Regions from separate parts of the Homo sapiens genome. Here region 1 is linked to region 2. The links are contacts of gene promoters, found by promoter capture Hi-C in human tissues and cell types (Jung and others, 2019). All regions are on one chromosome and are shown on one strand. Each heading gives the region's core, a stretch centred on a gene start or on the middle of the fragment in contact. The rest is flanking DNA. Distances are from core to core; before and after follow the strand shown.

What was found. The method cuts DNA at HindIII sites, captures the fragments that hold promoters and counts their contacts. A contact is called where the count stands out against the background at its distance.
Region 1: a fragment that was not itself captured here is called in contact with the fragment with the promoter of ZNF786 in region 2 in 2 of the 25 tissues and cell types used here (heart right ventricle and pancreas).

Annotation. Positions count from the first base shown.
Region 1 is chr7:148,998,571-149,005,029 of GRCh38, reverse strand. PDIA4 (protein disulfide isomerase family A member 4) reads left to right here. Exons shown (of 10, transcript NM_004911.5): 10 at 821-1,968. The coding sequence ends at 1,236. Among named protein-coding and RNA genes, the nearest start is that of GHET1, 14 kb to the right of the region's middle. The HindIII fragment of the contact is 5,437 bases long and covers 122-5,558 here.
Region 2 is chr7:149,088,195-149,094,569 of GRCh38, reverse strand. It overlaps ZNF786 (zinc finger protein 786), which reads left to right and starts at 3,852. Exons shown (of 4, transcript NM_152411.4): 1 at 3,852-3,947. The coding sequence starts at 3,930. RefSeq lists silencers at 1-107, 3,001-3,490, 3,611-3,910. The HindIII fragment of the contact is 46,746 bases long and covers 1-6,375 here.

The sequences.
Region 1 (6,459 bases), core at 1,591-4,090, 89 kb after region 2:
AGTCAGCCAGCAGTCCTCTCTCACCCCCGAGGGACTCTGACTTCTCGTCCAGAGAAATGTCGGGTGTGACCCCAAACTCCAAGGCACCAGAATAGCTTAGAAGAAGGATTTGCAAGTGTTACTATTTTCTTCTTGGCAGTTCTCCCAGTGTTTACTTTGAAAGCAAAAGCAAGATTCGGAGTCCATCTCAGGGCTTACCTAGCATCACTCAGCGGCCTTAGCACATTTCCAGCGCTGATGTGCTAAAATTCCAGACTAGGGCCGGGGTGTGCAGAGGGGGCATCTGAAGATGGAGCCCAGACAGGGCAAAGTCTGGGTGTGCTGAACACCCCTTGTGGCTTCAGAGCCTGACTCAGAGCCTCTTCACCCTCGGCCACCTTGCTGTACAGCTTTAAACAGAGCCTGTTGATCTTGGCTGAGCACATGGCCCCAGGCCCCCAGCGCTGGCCACATTTTGTGGGCAGGCCATGCTGTTCCGATGTCTGTGGGTTGTCCTGGCACCTCCCCCCCATGGCTCCCGGGCCCTCAGTGCCAGTGCTTACGGGAACTCCTCTGCCTGGGCAGTGACTCTTGTGATGGCCTCTCTGACAGGACCCGATGGCCCATTAGGTCTGGGCTGGAGCCACCTGCAACCTCTCTGGCCTTTGCAAGGACAGAGAGTAGAGAGTAGCAGCTACTACTTTCTACAGTAGTGGGCTCTTCCTGTGTGACTGGCCCGTCTGGTGGCCACACCAACCTCACTGCCTGGTCCAGAGAGAGCCCCCAGAATCTTTGGCCTTTGCAGCACTGACGCCCCCTCCCGCCTTGCTTTCCTTGGCAGGAAAACTGAAGCCAGTCATCAAATCCCAGCCAGTGCCCAAGAACAACAAGGGACCCGTCAAGGTCGTGGTGGGAAAGACCTTTGACTCCATTGTGATGGACCCCAAGAAGGACGTCCTCATCGAGTTCTACGCGCCATGGTGCGGGCACTGCAAGCAGCTAGAGCCCGTGTACAACAGCCTGGCCAAGAAGTACAAGGGCCAAAAGGGCCTGGTCATCGCCAAGATGGACGCCACTGCCAACGACGTCCCCAGCGACCGCTATAAGGTGGAGGGCTTCCCCACCATCTACTTCGCCCCCAGTGGGGACAAAAAGAACCCAGTTAAATTTGAGGGTGGAGACAGAGATCTGGAGCATTTGAGCAAGTTTATAGAAGAACATGCCACAAAACTGAGCAGGACCAAGGAAGAGCTTTGAAGGCCTGAGGTCTGCGGAAGGTGGGAGGAGGCAGACGCCCTGCGTGGCCCATGGTCGGGGCGTCCACGCCGAGGCCGGCAACAAACGACAGTATCTCGGATTCCTTTTTTTTTTTTTTTAATTTTTTATACTTTGGTGTTTCACTTCATGCTCTGAATACTGAATAACCATGAATGACTGAATAGTTTAGTCCAGATTTTTACAGAGGATACATCTATTTTTATCATTATTTGGGGTTTGAAAAATTTTTTTTTACACCTTCTAATTTCTTTATTTCTCAAAGCAGATAATTCTTCTGTGTGAAAATGTTTTCTTTTTTTAATTTAAGGTTTAAAATTCCTTTTCCAAATCATGTTGATTTTGCTCTTTGCTTTTTCGTTGTCTGAGAAATTGTTGGCGTAGATTTGGCTTCTGGTATGTGTTTCTGATTGCTTCCTGTTGAGCACAAAGTGAGAGCTGCCACTGAGCAGCCCTGCCAGGGGTGCTGTTTCAGGCTGGGCATCGCCAGGCGGCCTCCCTGCAAACCAAGGGCTGGGGGCAAAGGGGCATGATCCAGGGTCCCCCAGGGTGGGCTCAGCTCCAGGGAGAGGCCACCCACGTGGCAGCCCCACCTCTTGAGAGCCCCCAGTGCCGGAGCAGAAAGGACCCTGGACCCAGAGGCAGATACTGCGGGGTGGTAGAAAAGGTAGAGTAGGCTGTGGCAATGGAATAAAACACGATTAAAAACGTTAAGAACTGCGTTAGAAAACATCTGATCTGTGCTGCTGGGAGCCTCGGGGTGGGGCAGGAGCTGGATGTAGCTAAGCCCTGCAGAGGCCTGGCAGTAGCCCCCACCTCCTTCCAGACACAGGTGGGTGGAGATCATCCTGACCTAGGCTGAGGAGCTTCAGAGGTCTCCCCTCAGCGCTTCTCCTGGGGTGGCGGCTCCGCTGGACCGGCGCTTGTGTAGAGGTGGTTCTGTGCCATAAGGGTTCCAGGGCATTTGAGTAAGACCTGGGCTTCATTTCATCACAGGCTTGTTCGAGATGAGCCATCACCGTCCTCACCCCGCGCCTCCCCCGTCACTCAGCTGCTCCCAATTGTGGCTGAAGAGTGGCAAGGGTGAAACCTTGCGCTGACGGCAGCTCCTGCAGCAGTGACACGTGTGTGTTGGGGGTGGTGGGGGCAGGAGGCATTGGGTCTCCCAGGAAGGGGCAGCCTTGGTGGACTTACCCAATTATCCGCTGTAAAGTTAAGCCTGGCCAGGGCAGGCTGGGAGATGATCCGCTGTAGAGTTAAGCCTGGCCAGGGCAGGCTGGGAGTTGTGGGTGGGCCGTGCTCTGTAAGTTCCCTGTGTGATGAGAAGTCTCTGCACCCACCCCCATCCCCACCCCCAACCATCGTGCCCTCCCTCACATCAGGAGAGCAGGTGGCCCTCAGTCCTGGGATGGGCCCTTTCTTCAAGGCCCTTCCCCTCAACACTGGCGAAAAGCTTGGAGTTGTGACCTGGGGTAGGGCAGCGGTTAAGGCTGTTTCCGGAAGCAGAAGTCCATTCGTTCAGCGCTCTACCATGAGAACAAAGTGATTCCTGTCCTGGTAGGGCTCCCATGGGTTCAAAGGGCCCTGAGGAAGACAGCCCCTCTCTGGGGAGGAGCAGCAGTGTGACCTCACTTCGTGTAGGTGTCAGGGAAGCCCTGCTCTGAAGTGACATCTAAGCCAAGACCCTCGGGAGAAGTTGGCTTGAGCTGATGGCAAAAAAGGAGTGTCCAGGGACCTGCAGCTTTGGTATCACTGGGATGTCTGTCAGAACTGTAGAGTCTCAGGCTGGGCCCCGGTCCTACTGAATTATTCTGCGTATAAGAAGATCCCAGGAGGGTCACAGGCATATTGAAGTCTGGGAAATACCAGGAGTAAATGTTCCAGGCTTGGGGCCAGCATGTGCAAAGGCCCTGAGGCAAAAATCAAAATGTTTCCTCTTTGGAAATAGTCTGGAAGTCGGGTAGCCCAAGAGTGTCTTAACTGAGTCAGCTCCCTCTACATTGCCTGCAAAAGGCGGGACCACTGAAGGAATTTACCCTGGACCTGTGAGGGACCTCAGAAAGGAGACGGGCAAGTAGGTTGATGACAGCCCAGCGTGATCGGTGCCACGATGAAGGTATGTACGGGGCCATGGGAACCCAAGAGGGGACTGTCCCAGCTGCAGGCCTGGAGAGGCCGACTCAGGAGCTGGGAGGAGGAGGAGGAGGAAGCAAACTTCCCTCCTTCCCCTTCACCAGCCACGGAGCACTGTGCAAGGAGGCTGGGTTGCTGAGGGTAGGAGAGGCAGGGCCAGGTTGGGGGGCCTGCATTCAGGAGCTTGACCTTTATGTTAGTTTGCAGGGAACCATTGATGGTTTCCAGCAGGGAGGTGATGTGATGAGATTGAGATTGATGACGAGTAACAGTTAACATTTATCTCGCCTTAAGCAAAAGCCAGAACCCATGTTGAGCATTGCCAGATTGTCTCATTAAGTGACCTGTGAGGTAGGTTCTTGCGTTCATTTTACAGCTAGAAAGGAGGGGGATGTGGGGCTGAGTAGCAAACAGAGTGGGGATGTGAGCGCAGGCCACTCTCAATGCTGTGGCACCTCCCTCAGGAGCAAGGGAGCGAGGGTGGGCTGCATTGTGGGTGGCCAGTGGGTCTCAGGGATAAGGGGGCAGGATCTCCAGGGCTCTGAGACTGATCAGATGCTGAGGGTGGGTGAGTGGACCCAAGAAGACGGATAAGATGCCCAGGTTTCTGAATGAAGGGTTTTGTCACTTATGAAACTTTTCAGCATATGCAAAAGTAAAGAGACTAGGATAATACACACCCTTTACTCATCACCCACCTAAAACAAAATGTTGCTCCATGTTTAAACCTGTGCCTATCCCACCCTGCCCGCCCCTTTTTTTTTTTTGAGGATATGATGGAGGAAGGACAGGTCTTGCCTGTCTAGGTCATATCACCTCTGCCTCATAGAAAAGGAAGCAGAGGTCAGATAGTAAAGAATTTCCCCCAGAGCCACAGGGTGGGTAAACTGGGAAGCTGGAGCGGAACTCAGAACAGGTGTCCTTCAGTGCATCAGCAGCTCCTAGAACGTGTTGAAGCCTTCTGAAGGAGGTTAGTATGCACTCCACTAGAGTAGAATCTGTGAGTTACTTGGCTTGGGAAATAATGGAGCTCAAACAAATAAAACTTCCGTGGGGTTCTTGGGTGAAGAGCCTCTCAGAGCCTGTAGCCCCGGCAGGCCAGGCCTCCCTCCAGGAGATGGATAGGACCTTTGACTTCAAGGTCCCTGGCTTTGACTACACATCCCACAGATCCACGAGTTCCCGAATGATCAGCTCTCCTAACACGTAAGTCTCGTCAGCTGAGTCTGTCTTCTGAGCACACACCTGCCCTTGGAAGGACCAAGGCATCCCCTGTCAAGGTGGGCCAGCCCTAGGGTAAGGGCTGTGAGCTAGGAAGGGCTCCAGGAGCCCCATGGACAAATCTGACCCTCCAGGCCACCAGGTGCACAACCTCAGACCCTACCCGGTGCAGCAAAGGGATTAAACTCGAGTGGACATGATTGATTATTTGATTCCTACTATAATGAATTAAAGAGGTACACTCATGCACTGAGTAATGACATTTCTGTCAATGATGGACCACATTTATGACAGTGGTCCCATAAAATTATAGCGGAGCTGAAAAATTTCTTTCACTTAGTGATGATGTAGCCTTCATAACGTCATAGCAAAATTACCGTATTTTTTTTATTTATTTTTCTTTGAGACGGAGTCTCGCTCTGTCGCCTAGGCTGGAGTGCAGTGATGCATTCTCAGCTCACTGCAAGCTCCGCCTCCCGGGTTCAAGCAATTATTCTGCCTCAGCCTCTCGAGTAGCTGGGACTACAGGTGCGTGCTACCATGCCCGGCTAATTTTTGTGTTTTTATCAGAGATGGGGTTTCACCATATTGGCCAGGCTGGTCTTGAACTCCTGACCTCAGGTGATCCTCCTGCCTCAGCCTCCCAAAGTGCTGGGATTACAGGCATGAACCACCACGGCTGGCCGCTACCGTATTTTAAAAATAAATGTAGCGTGGCCTAAGCTTGCGGTGCTTATAAAGTCTACAGTCGTGGACGGTAAACTCTGAGGCCTTCACATTCACTCACCACTCACTGACTCACCCAGAACAACTTCCAGTCCGACAAGCTCCATTCATAGAAAGTACTCTTTATAGGCATACTGTTTTAATCTTTTACACCATATTCTTACTGTACATTTTCTATGCATAGATACACAAATGCTTACAATAGCACAAGTGCATGCTGTACAGGTTTGTAGCCTAGGAGCGATACACTATACCGTACAGCCAGGGTGTATAGTGGGCTGTACCATCAGGGTCTGTGGAAATGCACTCTGATATTCACACAATGCCAGAATCGCCTAACAATGCATTTCTCAGTACATGTTCCTGTTACTAAGTGACATGACTGTATTTAATGTTTATTCAGTATTCAGTATAGTTTTTAGTACTTAGTGTTTTTAAATCTTGCAGAAAGCTTGGGAAGCAAAAGTGAGAGGTAGGGCCGGGCGCGGTGGTTCATGCCTGTAATCCCAGCACTGTGGGAGGCTAAGGTTAGGCAGATCACCTCAGGTCAGTAGTTCGAGACCAGCCTGGCCAACATGGTGAAACCCTGTCTCTACTACAAATACAAAAATTAGCCCGGTGAGGTGACGGGCGCCTGTAATCTCAGCTACCCAGGAGGCTGAGGCAGGAGAATCGCTGGAACCTGGGAGGTAGAGGCTGCAGTAAGCCGAGATTGACCCACTGCACTCCAGTCTGGGTGATAGAGTGAGGCTCCGTCTCAAAAAAAAAAAAAATAGAGGTGGAACGGGGAGGCCGCCCAGGGCCAGCGCATAGTAACTGCACACCTTTTGAATGAGTAAATGGAGAACTGTAGATTCTTGGGAAGCCCAGGCTTGAGGGGCCAGATATGGAAGGGGCTCTCTTACCTAAGCCAGAGCCTCCCGTCAGCCACACCACTCGCTCCACACTCTTTTCACTCGGCTCAGCACAAGGCAAGATGAGCACAGCTCTTGAATTCAACGTGTTCTCATCTTAGATTACAGAGAGACTGTGGAAGAGGGAGGAGGACAAAGGACCTCTAGTTCAAAAGTAAAAACTGAGAAGTTTTTCTTTTCTTTCTTTTTTTTTTTTTTCAAGACAGTCTCG
Region 2 (6,375 bases), core at 2,603-5,102:
GTGAGTTGAAGTATGTTGTAAACTTTTATAAGTCTCAAAAGGTTACATACTGTATAATTCCGTTTATATGACATTCTTGAAAGGTAAAACTATAGGGACAGAAATAAATCAGCCCTTGCTAGGGGTTACAGATATAGGAAGGGAGGTGGATCAAAAGACATTACAAGATGGCTGGGCACAGTGGCTCTCACCTATAATCCCAGCACTTTGGGAGGCCCAGGCAGAGGATCACTTGAGGCCAGGATTTTGAGACCAGACTGGGAAACATAGCAAGACCCTGTCTCTACACTTTTTTTTCTTTTTTTTGAGACAGAGTCTTGCTCGGTTGCCCAGGCTGGAGTGCAATGGCGTGATCTTGGCTCAATGCAACCTCCGCCTCCTGGGTTCAAGTGATTCTCCCACCTCAGCCTTCCCAGTAGCTGGGATTACAGGCACCTGCCATTATGCCTGGCTAGTTTTGTTTTATTTTTTGAGATGGAGTCTCGCTCTGTTGCTCAGGCCAGAGTGCAGTGGCGTGATCTCGGCTCACTGCAACCTCCACCTCCAGGGTTCAAGTGATTCTTCTGCCCCAGCCTCCCGAGTAGCTAGGATTACAGGCGCGTGCCACCACGCCCGGCTAATTTTTGTATTTTTAGTAGAGACGGGGTTTCACCATGTTGGCCAGGCTGGTCTAGAACTCCTGACTTCAGGTGATCCGCCTGCCTCAGCCTCCCAAAATGCTGGGATTACAGGCGTAAGCCACCGCGCCGGACCAACAATTTTTTAAAAAACAAAACAAAAAAGCTATTTAAGGGCATTTTAGAGGGTGATGAAACTTCCAATAGCCTTGTAACCGGGCCCCTTGAGACTTCAGCATTCTGCAGTTCTTAAGGACTGAATAAATGAAAATTCTGATCAGGCCCTTGCTTGTTTGCATGTTTTAACCACTTGCTTTTTGCCCAATATTCCTTGTTCTCACAATATAATTACATACTGCTGATGTACTGTTTGATTGTCAAGGAGAAGGAGATAACTTCAGGGTCATGAAAAATTGTTGCAGGGGGAATGCCTTCAGGGTCGTTGTGGCCAGCCCCTGACGCCCAGAAGCCTGATTGCTCAAGGTGTTATCAGAGACTGAAGAAACACAGACTTTCCCCCTTGGTTCCCTGAAACTCCCCCTCCCTTACTCTCTAGCCCCATAAAAACTCCCTGCTTCCTTTTGTTAAGACAGATTTTAGAGATTTGCTCTGCTGCCTTCTCGCTTTGGCCAAATCAATGAAACCTTTTTGCATCTCCAAGCACCGGTGTCTCAGTGTTTGGCCTCAGCTGCCCATGAGGTACACAAGCCTGATTTTGGGGTTTTACAACAGCCTGATTATGATGTCAGTTACATGTTTATGCATATGTTAAAATTTGGAGTTCTATGTAGTAGTATAGAAGTTATACTTCTATATAACTTACAGTTATAAAAAAAGTTAATAGTTAAAAGTTCATGGCAGGGTGCAGTGGCTCACACCTGTAATCCCAGCACTTTGGGAGGCCGAGGTGGGCGGATCACGAGGTTAGGAGATGGAGACCATCCTGACTAACACGGTGAAATCCCGTCTCTACTAAAAATACGAAAAATTAGCGGGGCAGGCATGGTGGCATGCGCCTGTAATCTCAGCTACTCGCGAGGGTGAAGCAGGTTTTTTTGTTTTTTGGTTTTTTTTTTTTGAGACAGAGTCTCGCTCTGTCGCCCAGGCTGGAGTGCAGTGGTGCGATCTCAGCTTACTGCAAGCTCCGCCTCCCGGGTTCACACCATTCTCCTGCCTCAGCCTCTAGAGTAGCTGGAACTACAGGCGCCCGCCACCTCGCCCGGCTAATTTTTTGTATTTTTAGTAGAGACGGGGTTTCACCGTGTTAGCCAGGATGGTCTCGATCTCCTGACCTCGTGATCCGCCCGCCTCGGCCTCCCAAAGTGCTGGGATTACAGGCCTGAGCCACCGCGCCCGGCCAGCAGGAGAATCACTTGAACCCAGAGGCTGCAATGAGCTGAGATCGTGCCACTGCACTCCAACCTGGGCAACAAGGGCAAGACTTCGTCTAAAAAAAAAAAAAAAAAGTTCATAGCAGTATACATTAAAAAATTGTACTGTATACACTTCGGGAGGCCGAGGCGGGTGGATCACCTGAGGTTGGGAGTTCGAGACCAGCCTGACCAACATGGCGAAACCCCGTCTCTACTAAAATACAAAAAATTAGCCGGGCATGGTGGCGCGTGCCTGTAGTCCCAGCTACTCGGGAGGCTGCGGCAGGAGAATAGCTTGAACCCGGGAGGCGGAGGTTGCAGTGAGCCGACATCCCACCACTGCACTCCAGCCTGGCGACAGAGCAAGACTCTGTCTCAAAAAAAAAAAAAAAAAAAAAAAAAAAAAAGCCAGGCGCGGTGGCTCACGCCTGTAATCCCAACACTTGGGGAGGCCGAGGCAGGTAGATCACAAGGTCAGGAGTTTGAGGCCAGCCTGACCAACATGGTGAAACCTCGTCTCTACTAAAAATACAAAAATTAGCCGGGCGTGGTGGCAAATGCCTGTAATCCCAGCTACTCGGGAGGCTGAGGCAGGAGAATTGCTTGAATCCAGGAGACAGAGGTTGCAGTGAGCCGAGATTGCGCCACAGCACTCCAGCCTGGGTGACAAGAGTGAGACTTTGTCTCCAAAAAAAAAAAATTGTACTGTATAACAGTTGTAAAAATAAAAAACGTTAAACAGTAAGGTGCATGTACATTTCACGATTCTGTGGCAAACACAGATGCGTATATGCTCCTCAGCCTACGCAGGGACTATTTTATTTCTTATGCACATCCTCTCCAAACTACACACTTTTCCTTTGCTACTTCAGCCTGACACCTAAGACATGACTAAGACAGAATGCGAGGTTGATTTTCTGGAGACAATCGCCACCCCCTTCCTCGCCCTCTCTCCTTTCTGTCTCTTCCTGGTTTCCCCACCTCTCCCCTGTTCTTGCGTTCTCGTGTTTCTCACGCCCTGTGTCATGGCCTCCTCCGTCTTCTCCTCCTACTCTGTCTCTGTCTCCTGCCGGGGCCCGGGGTGCCCGACCGCAGCCTTGGGCCACCCTGAGTCCCTGCAGGCGGCCCTGAGGCCGGGGTGGCTTCCGCATGGGGTCTCTGCCCAAGGCCGTTCTCTGCTAAGGAAGGAGCGTGGCCGCCCGGGGAGCCCGGAGGGCTCTAGACCCACGGCGACCGGACCTGGTGGGCGGACCCCGCCTCCGCGTCCCCGGCGGGACAAGCATGGGGCCCCCACGGCCTCCGCGCCCCCGGCGGGACGGATGCCCCGGGCCACCGCGGGCAGCGCGCGCCCCCCACCCACTTTCCGGCCTCGCTGGATTCCCGGGACCCCCTCACAGACGAAGCCTGTCTCGGGGGCGGCTTTGGGAGGAACCGCACCGGAGGTTCCCCTCTCGCTGCCTCTCAGTCTGGGTTTCTGTGGAGCGCGTCTCCCTGTCCCTGTCCCTGATCTCTCCCTGTCCCTGTCCCTGATCTCTCCATGTCCTGCCCCTCCGTTTCCCCTCCGGCCAGCTCCTCAGCTTGTCTCTGACCGCTTCCCTCCCCAGATCCCGGGAATCCGAGGGTCCCTCAAAGACCGGCGTGCTGCGGCCTGCTCTGAGGGCGCCCGGGCCCCTGGGTCCCTCCTCTGAGGACCGACGCTCAGGCAGCGCCGCTTCTTCCTCCCGCAGGAGGCGCTGTAGGACTGAGCGGCAGCCGCGGCCGGGCGCCGGGTCCCAGCATGCACCGCGCCCGGCCGGCGCTGCGTTTGGGGGCCACCCGGGCTGTGCGTGGGAGTCGGGTTGGGGCGGAGCGGAGGGGAGTCAGTGCGCAGCAGGGCAGGTTCCTGCGGAGCCGCCGGAGACGGTCGGGTTTGCCAGGGCCGGGCGGGACCGCGGGGACCATGGCGGAGCCGCCTCGGGTAAGCGGGCTAGCCTGTTTGGACGCCCGGTTTCGGGGTCGTGGTGGGTCCTCGGGTTCCGGGCTCGCCCGTGTCCTGGGGTCCCCGTGAGTGCGCGCGGTGCACGGGTAGGACGGAGTCTGCAGGCTGCTTCTGCTGGGGATGTGGATTCCGGGCCCTGCGGTGAGCAGGTGGCCTCCGCTCCCGCGGCTTGTCCGTGGCCAAACCCCTGGACAAAGCCGAGCGTGGACCGAGGCCGACCTAGGAGCGGGGCGGAGCCTGGGCGAGGATGCCGGGCGGACGGGGAGCGGACGGTGGAAAGGATAGAAAGGTTTGGGGCCAGAGGTGGATGTTACAGGTCAACCAGTTTTACATCATAGTCACCGAAATCAGAACAACTGTTCCAAAAAGTTTAAGATTCCGAATGGTTGAAATGGTGTTTGGCGGGGGCTTCAATGTCAGAATTTATTGTCTAGCGTGATTTGGGTTGAGTGTAAGATGATACGTTGGGAAGAGTAGAAGAGGATACAAAAAATTAAGTTAGTGGTTTCTTAAAATCGAGGTTTAGAGGGTATTTTTATCTTGTAAACTTTAATGTTGAGGATTTTTGCTGATTATTAAATGAATTAGGCCGGGCGCGGTGGCTCACGCCTGTAATCCCAGCACTTTGGGAGGCCGAGGCGGGTGGATCACGTGAGGTCGGGAGTTCGAGACCAGCCTGGCCAACATGGTGAAACCCCAACTCTACTAAAAATACAAAAAATTAGCCTGGCATGATGGCGGGCGCCTGTAATCCCAGCTACTCGGGAGGCTCAGGCAGGAGAATTGTTTGAACCCGGGAGACGGAGGTTGCAGTGAGCCGAGACTGCACCATTGCACTCCAGCCTGGGCAACAAGAGCGAAACTCCGTCTCCAAAAATATATACATACCTATATATATGGGGAAAGGATATAAACAGCCAAATCACAGACCTGAAAATAAATTATTAATGAGTAAAAGAATGGATTTTAAAACTTGTGACATTCAGGCCAGGCGCCGTGGTTTACGCCTGTAATCCCAGCACTTTGAGAGGCCGAGGTGGGCAGATCACTTGACGTCAGGAGTTCAAGACCAGCCTGGCCAACATGGCGAAAAACTGTCTCTACTAAAAAATACGAAAATTAGCTGAGTGTGGTGGCGGACGCCTGTAATCCCAGCTCCTCGGGAGGCTGAGGTAGGGAGAATTGCTTGAACTCGGGAGGTGGAGGTTGCAGCGAACTGAGATGGCGCCACTGCACTCCAGCCTGGGCGACAGAGCGAGACTCTATCTCAAAAACAAACAAACTTGTGACATTCAGACGGTGGAACACTATACAAAATTAAAATAAATTAGCTACATATATGATCAACAGGGCCGGGCGTGGTGGCTCACGCCTCTAATCCCAGCACTTTGGGAGGCCAAGGCGGGCGGATCACGAGATCAGGAGATCGAGACCATCCTAGCTAACACGGTGAAACCCCGTCTCTACTAAAAATACAAAAACAAAAATTAGCTGGGCGTGTGGGCGGGAGCCTGTAGTCCCAGCTGCTCGGGAGGCTGAGGCGGGAGAACCCGGGAGGCGGAGCTTGCAGCGAGCCGAGATCGCGCCACTGCACTCCAGCCTGGGCGACAGAGCAAGACTCTGTCTCCAAAAAAAAAAAAAAAAGAAACTCAACAGGGCCAGATCCCAAAATGTTGAGGGAAGAATACAAGTATAATAAAGTATTTACGTATAAAAGACACAAAGTAATACTGAATATTTACAGATACATATATGTATTAAAATGAACTGGAAAGTTCCCATATTATTTATAATGTTTGCCTTTACAAAGGAAGGAGAATGTGACAATATCAGAACATGATTGAAGAGAGGAACCACAAGAACTTGAGTTTCACCGGTCACATTCTATTTCATTAAAAGGAACTCTGAAGAAAAATGTTAAACTTGTTAAGTCAGTGGTGAATACTAGGATGCTTATAGTTTTCTCTGTAACTCTCTGGATTTTTAAACTTCTAAAAATTAAAAAAGTTTTAAAAGTAAGGAATTTTAATCAGAGAAGAGGAGAGAATGAGTATCTTTAACACAAGTATAAACATACGTTCAGTTCTGCAATAATACAGCATATGCATTTCTAAAAATCATAGTGCTATGCAAAATTGTGCAATAAAAACCACAGAGCTTATTGGGAGAAATGTTACACATACAATACTCAAACTTTAATCAGTGATGTGTTGAAAGAACCTAAAAGCAGTTTTATGCACTTTAATGAGTAATAAATTATCTCAATTGCCTTAAAAACTGCCTGAAATAAGCCTGGGCAGGCCAGGCGTGGTGGCTCACACCTGTAATCCCAGCACTTTGGGAGGTCCAGGTGGGCAGATCACCTGAGGTCAGGAATTCAAGACCAGCCTGGCCAACATGGTGAAAT